3 separate regions of the Homo sapiens genome follow, and regions 1 and 3 are each linked to region 2. Evidence: promoter capture Hi-C in 16 types of primary human blood cells and fetal thymus (Javierre and others, 2016). All regions are on one chromosome and are shown on one strand. The core of a region is centred on a gene start or on the middle of the fragment in contact, and the rest is flanking DNA. Distances in the headings are between cores, read along the strand shown.

What was found. The method cuts DNA at HindIII sites, captures the fragments that hold promoters and counts their contacts. A CHiCAGO score of 5 or more calls a contact.
Region 1: a contact is called between a fragment that was not itself captured here and the fragment with the promoter of KCNN2 in region 2, in 1 of 17 cell types (endothelial precursors). The highest score is 5.7, in endothelial precursors.
Region 3: a fragment that was not itself captured here is called in contact with the fragment with the promoter of KCNN2 in region 2 in 1 of 17 cell types (M2 macrophages); the score reaches 7.0 in M2 macrophages.

Annotation. Positions count from the first base shown.
Region 1 is chr5:113,690,087-113,693,684 of GRCh38, reverse strand. LOC107986441 (a long non-coding RNA gene) reads right to left here. Exons shown (of 3, transcript XR_001742841.1): 2 at 2,531-2,626. Among named protein-coding and RNA genes, the nearest start is that of YTHDC2, 180 kb to the right of the region's middle. The HindIII fragment of the contact is 2,409 bases long and covers 154-2,562 here.
Region 2 is chr5:114,360,212-114,364,031 of GRCh38, reverse strand. KCNN2 (potassium calcium-activated channel subfamily N member 2) reads right to left here and starts at 1,962. Exons shown (of 8, transcript NM_021614.4): 1 at 771-1,962; 2 at 31-126. The coding sequence starts at 1,892. RefSeq lists a silencer at 2,685-2,894 and an enhancer at 2,933-3,820. The HindIII fragment of the contact is 13,933 bases long and covers 1-3,820 here.
Region 3 is chr5:113,631,030-113,634,613 of GRCh38, reverse strand. It overlaps LOC107986441 (a long non-coding RNA gene), which reads right to left and starts at 1,308. Exons shown (of 3, transcript XR_001742841.1): 1 at 1,250-1,308. The HindIII fragment of the contact is 3,549 bases long and covers 359-3,584 here.

The DNA.
Region 1 (3,598 bases), core at 109-2,608, 670 kb after region 2:
CTGCTTTTCTATCAAACGGGAAGAAAACTACTTAGCCCCATATTGCTTGACAGGATTGGAGTGGAGAATGTTCTGTTTGGTTTTATTGCATTGCAAAATTACACATAAAAGGCTGATTATTTTTATTAGAAAAGAATGGGTTACCAATAAGCTTTTAAAGAAACAAAAGCAAGCAAATGGGGTGAGTCTCCTCAGTATGTCATGAATGTTTTCTAGAGGCAAGGAAATTCACAGCAAGGAGGCAGAAGAGCTTGAATTGTTGAAGCAGGATTAATGCGCTCAGGCCAACTGAGAAACCCCAGGGGGGACGCGTGGGGTTTTTCCACTGGCTGCCTGAATACCAAGCAGGAACACCGCTGCCCTTTACGTTACCACCCTCCCGTTTTCATCCCGATGTTTCCTGTTGATTTTCTAACAGCTTAAATGTTTAAAAACAACTGCGTCCTCTGAAACATTTTAGCTACCAACAGGTGAATGTTATTAGTTAGACCTAAATAAGCGGGGTGGGGGAGAGGTGTTCTTCCCTTCCTCTGTATGAAACGAGGCTTTCCTGAATCGGAAATAAAGTAAAAATGGAAATCTGCGGGTACCCTGGTTACCTGGCAACCCAAACCCATGGGCTGCGTCTATTGGCATCCTAATGTCCCCCAGCATGAAAGATGCTGTCGGAAGGGATTCCTTTTATGTGGAGCCTCTTTACTCTCGTCCATTCATTTATCCCCAATTATTTGGTTTCCAAGTCAGTAACCCAGATTTCTGAGGGCTCTAATGCTTGTCTCTGTAGGGAAGGAGGCTTCCACTAGGGAATTTACTATAACACCTTTTAAAAGGAATCAGTGTTTTGCAACCCCCCGGGAACATTTGTGTTAAAAGGAAAAAACAAGGAGGGGGCTCTGGGGGAAGACTGCTTCTGGCTGCCCCGCAGTTCCTTCCCCATTGCTCTATGGAATGTGCAGGTCTTTCCTATTTCCTCAGGACCTCACTGCCTGAGGCTTCACTTGGAGAACTGCCTGTCACACTGCAGAGTCATCTATAAATAATCAGCCCAAATTGGCAACTGCCTGGAATGACAGTAAGGGAGAAATAACGCATTCCACACTGGCCCCACCCCCAACCCAGGCAAACCCCTGATACTTATTGTCAGTTCCATTACTGGGTCTAGAAATAATTCTAGGATTGTTTTGACATCGTTGTTTTGATTTGCAACGTTATGAAAAAATCTGGACACTACTGAAGAGACACGTGCTCAATTCCAAAGCAGAAAACTTCAAAAAATTAACATTTTGCCCTCCTCTGAAGAAAAATGCTATATTAGCTCACTAGATTTTTAGAGTAAGTATCAATGATTCTCGTAGTGATTCTGTTCATCCCTAACTAATCAAAACAAGTTTATCTGCTCTGTGTCTTTTAAAAACTTAATTCTCTCAAGGCCTTGTCCATTCTACTAGTTGTTTGTATTTCTATCAGAGGCTTTAAATTGTCAAAGAAAATCAAATTTCAATGTTTTTCCTATTTGTCAGCACCTTTTTGAAAAATTTTATGAAGGATAAGAATTTTAACTATAGGTATTACAATATAGAAAGAATAGTTAAATCCCTATAACCTAATTAATTCAACAAAATAGGTTGAGAAATTAGCAGATGTAACACCCTGCTAAAATACGTGTGTGTGTGTGTGTGTGTGTGTGTGTGTGTGTGTGTGTGTGTTGCAAAGATGAATACAGTACAGTCTGTTCTTTGAGAACTTACATTCTAAAGAGAAATATATAATGCATATGCTTTACCAGGAAATAATAATGTATGTGCTCTCCAAGGAAAATATACTAAGTACCAAAAAAGACATGAGCAATGGGAACTTTTTGAGATATAGTCATTTCCAGCTCTGGCAATGGAAAAAGCCACAAAGGCTTCAGGAGAAATGGAGAAAAAAATAGCTTTTGATCTAGTCCAATGGCTGGGTAGAATTTTGATACACAGAGATGGAAAGGACATTACAGATTAAAGAAATGGAGTGACCAAAAGCATGGGGTGGGAAGGTGCTGGAAACATTCAAGAATTGGTCAATGGTCCAGTTTAGTCAATGCACAGGATACACTGTTGTCCATTTCAACTGTGGTGTATCAATCAATCTATAATGCTGCCTTCTATAATTCATTCACTCATTTATTCAACAGATATTTACTGGATGCAACAAATATTTAAGTCTCTTTTTGGCAGAGACTTGAGAGGATTTAAAAGAACAATAATAAACAAGTGATTCTCAATTTTTCACAAGGCCTTTTGCCAAAGTTGTTGTTCACAAATTGCCACTCCTCCTTTAAGATTATAATAATATCACAGTTGATGTTGCTAAAAAAAATTCCTGTGCATGTTTAATGTGACTTATTCATGAAGAAACTGCATTATTCCAAGGGCAGGCAACACAACAGCTTGTTGGAAGAAACCGGTTCAAAGCACAAAGCATCAATACATAAAACACTCATACCATTACAACATCCCAACTACATGCAGTTATACCTCCAAAGTATTACCTGAGAAGTTGAGTGTTCAAAGGGGTGAAGCTTAGCCATTTCATTTGGAACTAGCCACCATACCATACCAATTCACTTAACAGCTGGACATTTCACCTGCAGGAAAAAAAAAAATTAAAGTGTAAGAATATTCTCAAACGATATTCTTTAATCTTATGGGTAAAAAAAAGATAAAAACATTTGCTGGATCTACTTCACTGGGTTAACGTAAGGATGAAATGAGACAATAAATGAGAAGTAATTTTAACCTGCAAAGCACTAAATAAATATTAGTTCATTTTATCACAAAAGTCAGTCTTTGCTGAGTCAGTGCCACATAAATCTCTCACTGAAAATGGTCCCAGCATGCACAATAGGACACACATTAACATTACACCAAGTTGGGAGGCTATCATGTTTTTTTTTGTTTGTTTGTTTGTTTTTTTTTGAGACAGAGTCTTGTTCTGTCACCCAGGCTGGAGTGCAGTGGCACGATCTTGACTCACTGCAACCTCCACCTCCCAGGTTCAAGTGATTCTCCTGCCTCAGCCTCCTGTCACTGGGATTACAAGTGCCTGCCACCATGCCCAGCTAGTCGTTTGTATTTTTAGTAGAGATGGGGTTTCACTATGTTGGCCAGGCTGGTCTCGAAATCCTGACCTTGTGATCCACCCACCTCAGCCTCCCAAAGTGCTGGGATTACAGGCTTGAGCCAGCGCACCCAGCCAGCTATCATGATTATTTGGTGGAATTCAGAAGAGAGCTGGGGACTATGTTGGTCACCAGTCAGTCCAGATAAGCGAGTGGCAACCACAGCAGCAGCAAAATTGAGACAATAGCTTGGAGAAGCTGCAAACATTAGCTAGTTGCTAGGGAGCTTCAACAAGATGTATCCCTGCCACTAAAATTGAGATCATGTGGCCTATATTATAAAAAATTAATCCAAGTTGGGGCACAGCTGAAAAAGATGCTTCCATCCAAGTGGCTTGACAGCAGGAGTCATTTGAAGTATTGTCTTTGGTTTAGAGCCATCTCACACTCATATTTTGGCTATACTACGTGAGCCACCAAATGAAGCAAGGACATCAG
Region 2 (3,820 bases), core at 713-3,212:
GTCATTCATAAACAGCAGGACCTAAGTTACCTGTATTTCCCTGGCGTGGTACACGATGATCAGACCGAGCAGGATGATCGTGGAGAGACTGATAAGGCATTTCAGAGCTAAGGAATACAGCGACGCCTGCAACACAGTCAGACAGAAGCACTTTTAAGAAAGAAGCACTTTTAACCGCCTTCCACGTCCCCAGAGTCAGTCAGTCCCCCACAGGTGGACCTGAACTCACAGAAGGAAGATAAGGGGAGAGGGGTGCACCTGTCTTGGCTCTGTGATCTGTCAGATCACTCGGCCTCAAAACCAAAAGAGACGAGAGTAGACCTGGAAAGACTGGGAAGACGCGTGGCTGGGCTGCTGGGTCCACGCCATAGAGGACCGAAGCGAGCGCCGCTGTTCCAGGCTAGCAAAACCAGAGGAACTTACTTCTGAGTTCAAGAGAGCGGGTTGAAAGGGCCCTTCTAAACATAATTCACGAGGGGATGAATTACAGATGGTTTCCCCACCGACTTCCAGAACCACTTACTTAAGGTGCCCGAATGCGCTGAGCACTCTTAACTGCCTCGAGAACTTTGGCTGCACGCGGAAAGGGTTCATCTCCGAGTTGTTTAGCTGACTACGGATGCGCGTCCTAGACGCGCCCGCTGTCCTGGCGGGCTCCCTTGATCGTCCCGGAGAGGCTAGGGATCCGCACGCAAAGGGTCCCCGCCAGTGCCCATCCCAACCACCCAGTGCCCGACTCCGGTAGCGTGGGCTGGGGTTCAAGCCTGTACCTTGTCGTAGGCGCCCCACGACAGCTCGGTCTCGATGACCATGACCACGATGCCGAACATGCCGAAGATGAGCGCGTAGTCGCTGAGCCGCTTGCGCTTTTCGAACAGGGCGCGCCGGTGGCCCAGCTTGTAGCCGATGTTCTGGTTTTTCTTTTTGCTGGACTTGGTGCCACTGCTGCTGCCGTGCCCGCTCCCGCCACCGCCGCCGCCTCCTCCAGTGCTGCCTCCGCCGCCGGTTCCATAGAGCGCCAGGTTGTTGGAGTTGTTGTGCTCGGGCTTAGACACCACGATCTCGGGGGCTGAGGACGAAACAGCGGCGGCGGCGGCAGCGGCTGCAGACGGGGAGGACGCGCCGCCACCTCCTCCGACAGACGCGGGGGGCTGCAGGGGCTGCGCCTCTGAGTCCATCTCGTGCAGGTTCCGGCGGGACGCGCTCAAGTTGCTGAGCGGCCGCATGACGCCCCCGTTGTACCTGCAGCTGCTCATGGCTATTTCGGTGAAGGGGTTGCTCTCGCGGCGCGCCTGGGGCTGGTGGTGCTGGTGGTGCGCCGGGTGCGGGTGGTGGTGGTGGTGCGAGAGCGGGGGCCCGGAGCCCAGACTGCCGAGGCTGCCCGTGGGGCTGGCGGCGGGCTGCAGGCTGTGGCACTGGTGGTACTGGGAGGCGGACGCCGACTGCTGCGCGGACTGCTGCGCGTACTGCTGCCGGAGCGCACTGGCATGGCTGGACGGCGTCAGCTCGCTCACATTGAGCTGGCTGCCCCGGCGCGACGAGCAGCAGCAGCAGCAGCAGGACGAGCCCGACAGCGGCGAGGAGGTGCGGGTCCGGAAGGCGCCGCCGGGCGAGGAGGTGCGGAGCAGCAGGGACAGGTTATCTCCCGCCCCCGCCGCCGGGGCACCGGAGGAGGCGCAGCTGTTGCACCGGAGGCATGGGCTGCTGCCGCCGCTGGCCGGCTGCTGGTGCGCGAGGTGCGGGTGGTGGTGAGGGTGCGGGAGGGGCGCGAAGGGCGGGCACGGCTTGTCCTGGCTCTGTTGCTGCTGCTGGCAATGCAGGTGTGAGGAGCGCGGCGGCGGCGGCGGCTGCTCTGGGAAGAAGCCGCGCTGGAACTGCAATGGGGTTTCCATGTCAGGGCTGTTAAAGCTGCAGGGAGACCAAGCGGTGGTGCACCCTGCGCAATGCGTTATGGTCGGGAGCGGGGACTCCTGCTGCTGGTGCGAGGAAGGGCCCATGCCGGCTCCGGTAGAATCCAGGCGGCGAGTCCGATTGGTTGGGCGCACCAAAACAATGGGCATGACATCACCTGCGGGGACCGAGACTGAGTTTGCGGCGCGCGCGGCTTAGGGAAGCGTGTGTGGCAGAGAAAGATGGGGAGGGGAATCTGCAGGACAAACCCTAGGGGGGTGCAGTCCAGAGCCAGGGCGCTCCAGGGCAGGGATTCCGCCTGCTGATTGCGTGGAGATGGAGAGCCCCCACGCAGTGCAGCTGGGCTGCAGGGGGAGGAGAAAAGAGAAAGGCGCCCCTCCCTCCCGTGCCGCTGCCCCCTTGACTAGTGCCGGACGCGCTGCCCGGATCACCTGCGCCAGCCACTGCAGCACGTCGGGCCACCTTGGCCGGGGGCAGGCTCAGGGACGGTGTGGAACCCCGACCACTTCTCCGACTGCACGCCTCGCAGGGCTGCAAAACAGCAGCCCCCTCGTCCCACGCCCGCTTCTCCCAGATCATCCCGCCGAGAGTGGGCTGCCGGCTGCCCGCCAAGTAACTGCGGGGGCACTGGCTTTGGGGAGAAAAAGTTTGGCGACCGGCTGCGCCAGTGCAGCAGCGTGTGGGGAGAATCCCGGGGCCTGAGCCCTGCCTTGGCCGCTGCGGGATCATAGCCGACCCCGAGACCGGATCTTTCCCAGCCGGCAGGCTCTGGAATCTGGATTGGGTGCGCGGCGCTCTAGCCCAAGTGCGCTGCGGCGCGGGTAGGGTTAACCGCCTCGGCACCCCGGCCGGGGGTGGGTGGGGGCGGGGCCGGAGGAGGGGATCCCCGCAGTCTGCCGACAGAGCCGGCCGGGCTTCCCGGGTCCCCCCTGGCGGGGGCGGAGGGCTTTCCCCGCTACCGCCAGCTCACATTTGCGCCTTCTCCAGAACATGAGGGGATGGCGCCCCCGGCCGCCGGGTCCTGGGCTCTGGCGCTCAGGCCCTCCGGCAGCCCGAATCCGGAGGTCCCAGGGCTTCCTTGCCGGTGGAGAGGCAGGCGGCTCGCTCAAAGGTGTGGGGGCTGCTCAGCCACCGCCGGCCTCCAGCTGCTCTTCTGCTTCTCTTCCTCCTCCTCACCTGCAGCGCAGACACAAAGCAAAGACCGGTCACAAATACGCAAATATCGAGCATCTTTGCCAAGTCCTAACTGCAGCGGCGGGTGGGAAAGGGGCCTGGCGCGGGCTGATTCACCCCGGTAGTCGCAGCCTGGCAGGGAAATTAAGAATGATAGCTTGGGCTGAATAGTCGCTGCCCACGGACAGTGCTGGAGTTTTGTTGGAGTTCGGTATCATTATTTATTTATTTACTCTCTAATAAACTAACAAAAATTGCATTTGGTGTCTCACAAATTCCCTGTGCTGTCTTCTTCTAAGAGATGTACCAACACAATGCACTAGGTGATCCTTATGTTCTTTGTTTCTGCTCCATCTTAAGTCTTTACATTTGCATTTCTTTGTGAATTCAAATTCCCGTCTCCCCCTAAAGAAGGTGAAAGAAATTGGCCCGTTGAATATTTGTTTCCATTTTAAATTATTTTAAAGCCTGCTTTTCATGATAAAGACTATTACAACGAGTTAGACCTAGCAATTAGAGTGAAAGCGGATCACCCTCATTAGGTCATTAGGTAATTGGAATTCTCAGCTGGATCCAATTTCTTGATATTCTACTCGGCAGCTGCCCTAAAGTTGCTTACCTGGTATCTGCTTTTCAGAGTGTGCGTGTGTGCGCTTTCAATGCCATGGAATGAATAATTCATTTTATGATGTTCTTTGGACACATGTTAATTTTAATTTTTTGTGTGTGCAAATAA
Region 3 (3,584 bases), core at 884-3,383, 730 kb after region 2:
TACAACTGTATTGAACATTAGGTAACTTATTGAGAATGATGAGGACATTGTACACAGAGATCTTTCTTACTAAACGAGAGTAATTACTGGAATATTGAATATGACTTTCTACTACAAGTTTTTCAAAGGCAATATGCGCATCACTTTTCCTTTAAAGGCTGCAGGTATAATTCTGTGTGAATTTCACATTTAAACACTAATTATTAATAATTCAAGAGTTTCCCAGATCACTATATAATAAAGCATAACGTTCATAGCATCAACCATCGGTGTTTAAAAGAAGGGCACTCTTGAGGGGGTGGGGGTAATCTATCTAAAGTTCTAGTGTGTTAGCCAAGGTCAAGTCAGCCTTCAAGCTTTTCTTTTGTTCTACAGCATGTCACTTATTGAAACACATATTTCTTACTTGTTATTTTTCTCCTTTCATGACACATTAAATTCTCTTAGCACCAATTATTAATTTATTAATTATCACCAAGTTAAAACCTGTTAAGAATGCCCAGAGGATGTGTACAGTAGGTTCACAGCCGTAGATCCAATGGAGTTTAAAAACCCATTGCCAATGAATTAGGGAGACTTTCATATGCTCAAGGACCATTATTTGAACCAAAAATAAAATTTCTAATTATTTTCATTCATCAAAATGTCCCACAGAATTCTATGCTGTGCTAATTTTAAGATTATAGAGTAATGTAACAGATGTCATGGATTAAATCCTTCAAACAAGGAGGTATTCTTTTTGGAATATCCTATTTCCTTGCTTATGAGCTCTTATCATTGAATAAAAAACATCAGGATATTACTGAGGGCATTCTCTGCCCCAGACTCTGAACCAGATATTTTCCATGATATCTTGTTTAGTCCTCACGACAACCTTATGAAGTGCATATTATCTGCATTTTGCAAAGGCAAAACTAGAACATATTTCAAAACTTTCCCAAGTCACACAGATAAATAAATAGAAGAACCGTAAGTTAGAACCCTGTATTTGGTCTACAGAACTTCTGTAGGAATAATGGTAAGGAAGAGCTGGTAACCTGTGTAAGAAGTAAGAAATAGCTGGTAACTTGAGAAAGAAGTAAGAAAGGTACATGTGAAGATAATATAGTTTTTCAGCCTTTTCTTTCCATTTTCTTTTTCCTACTAAACTCCTAAGTGTGATCAGGACAGTTTTGTGAAATGTAGGTAATTTTGTTTTCTGTATCCTAAGAGGATACAGAAATCCTAGAAGTAAAAAAAGAGAACTCACCCACTGACAAAGATTTTCAATGAGATTTTTACCTCCAGCCAATTCTTCATCCTGTCAGAATACAGAAAACAGAAGTTGCCTTTTTTCACCAGTTCCTTTTCCTACTTAGTATAAAAATTGTTTAGCTTGCAAGAACTAATGCTACAAAGATCTAACATTAACTATAGGGAAACAATAATCAGAGTTGGAGAAACTGGCATGTGAGCAAGTGACTTCAGAATATTTCCTTTCTTCCTCTTTCTTTATGTCCAAACCAGGAATCAGACATTTCCTCAAAGCATGATAGCATTGAATAGTACCATATTTTCATAATTATTAAAACTTTCTTTTTTGGTCATTTTACTGTCAAAACTACTTGCTTTAAAATACCTCTGCCACAATCTCCATTTTGCCTTCCTTAAAGTTTTTCACTTTTTAATTTTTTTTTATTTTCCATAGAAACCTTAGCTCCCCTGTCTATTACATAAATTTGAATACCTTGAGATATTAACTGTAGATTTAAACATGGTGAGCCCTGAAAGAATTCAATTAGGTAGGAAGCCCCAGAATATATTTTATGCTCTTTAGGAATACTAATCATGTATGTTAGATCTTTGTAACCAATCTTTGTAGCAGTATCTATCATTTCTCTAATTGCTCTCATCTTTTTATTTTTTACTTTATCCTCTATGATTTTTTCAATTCTATTTCATGTCATGGTCTCTGTTTTCAGCTGTGTTGATTTTAAAATTTTGTGCTACTGCTGATTCCGTTTTTATTCATTTGTTTCTTGTTTTTTTTTTTTTTTTTAGATGAAGTCTCACCTTTTCGTCCAGGCTGGAGTGCAGTGGCACAATCTTGGCTCACTGCAACCTCCGTCTCCCCAGTTCAAGCGATTCTCCTGACTCAGCCTCCCGAGTAGCTGGGATTACAGGTGGGCACCACCACACCCAGCTAATTTTTCTATTTTTAGTAGAGATGGGATTTCACGATGTTGGCCAGGCTGGTCACGAACTCCTGACCTCAGGCAATCTGCCCACCTCGGCCTCTCAAAGTGCTGGGATTACAGGCGTGAGCCACCAGGCCTGGCCTGTTACTCATTTTTTTACATTACCTCTGCTCCCTTTCTATTTTTTTCTGTTGTCTGAGCATTGCTCATTTGACTTTTTGTAACTTCTTCTTCAATTGTTTCATATATTTAAGTGTATTCTTTTACCTCCAATTTTTAAAATTATGGCCAGCATAAAAACAATACAAAAAATAGTACAACAAACACCCATATCCATTACCTAGATTCAAAAATTATTTGCATTTTGCCATATTCTTTCTACTTTCTTTGCTTTAACCATTTAAAAATAAGATGCAGACATCATAACACTTCACCCCTAAATACGTTAGCAACTTCTAAGAAAAATGACATTATCTTTACATAACCACAATACCATTACCATATCTTAAAATAAATAATAATTTTCTACTATTATATAAGGCCCATTTATATTCACATTTTTACAATTATCTAAAAAAACTGTCTCATATTTGCTTTTCTCAAACCAGGATTTAATCAAGTGCCATGCATTACATTTGATTGTTACATTTTTCCAGACTCTTTTATCGAGAAAAGTATCTATTTTTTGTCCCATGGCACTGACTTCTGAAGAAAAATGACCAGTTATCTTACAGAATGTCGATTATTTTCTTGTGGTATCATTTAACTTCTGCTATTCCTTTATTTCCTAAGTTAAATCATCCTTGCATTACTAGATAAACTCCACTTGAACATAAGGTATTCTTTTTAAATGTCCTTCAGGGATCCTATTTTTTAATATATTATTTTGGATTTTTACATCAATATTCATCCCTTGGTCTCTGGTTGATCTTTCAGCTGTAGGAATGTGGAGTGAGCCCAGAAACAGCCAGCAAGCATCCTTAATGTTAATTATTTTCCTGCCAAACTGATTAATCCTCTGTTATGTAAACATACTGGTTCTGAGTGTACCCTCTTAGGACCCTTGCCATTCTGAAAGTTATCCTAGTCTGGGACCAGGTCGTGAACAATAAAGGCGGTGGGAATACATGATCTCCTTTTAACATCACCTTTCTTGTCATTCTTTGAAACCGAATGGTGCCCCAGTCAATGTTCTCTCTGTTTCTCCTTAATCCATCCATAGAGTTAATCCTTACTGCATCAGGTTAAAGATTAGTAGTAAGACTCTTTTTAATCCACTGATTTGAAATTTGCTTCTTTCCCAATATCAGAGGATATAGGAGAAAGGTCTGAACATCCATCTTCAATTAATTTGGTTCAAGTGATCTTGCTTCTAGGAGATATTCTTCAGTAGTCAGTGATGTGGAA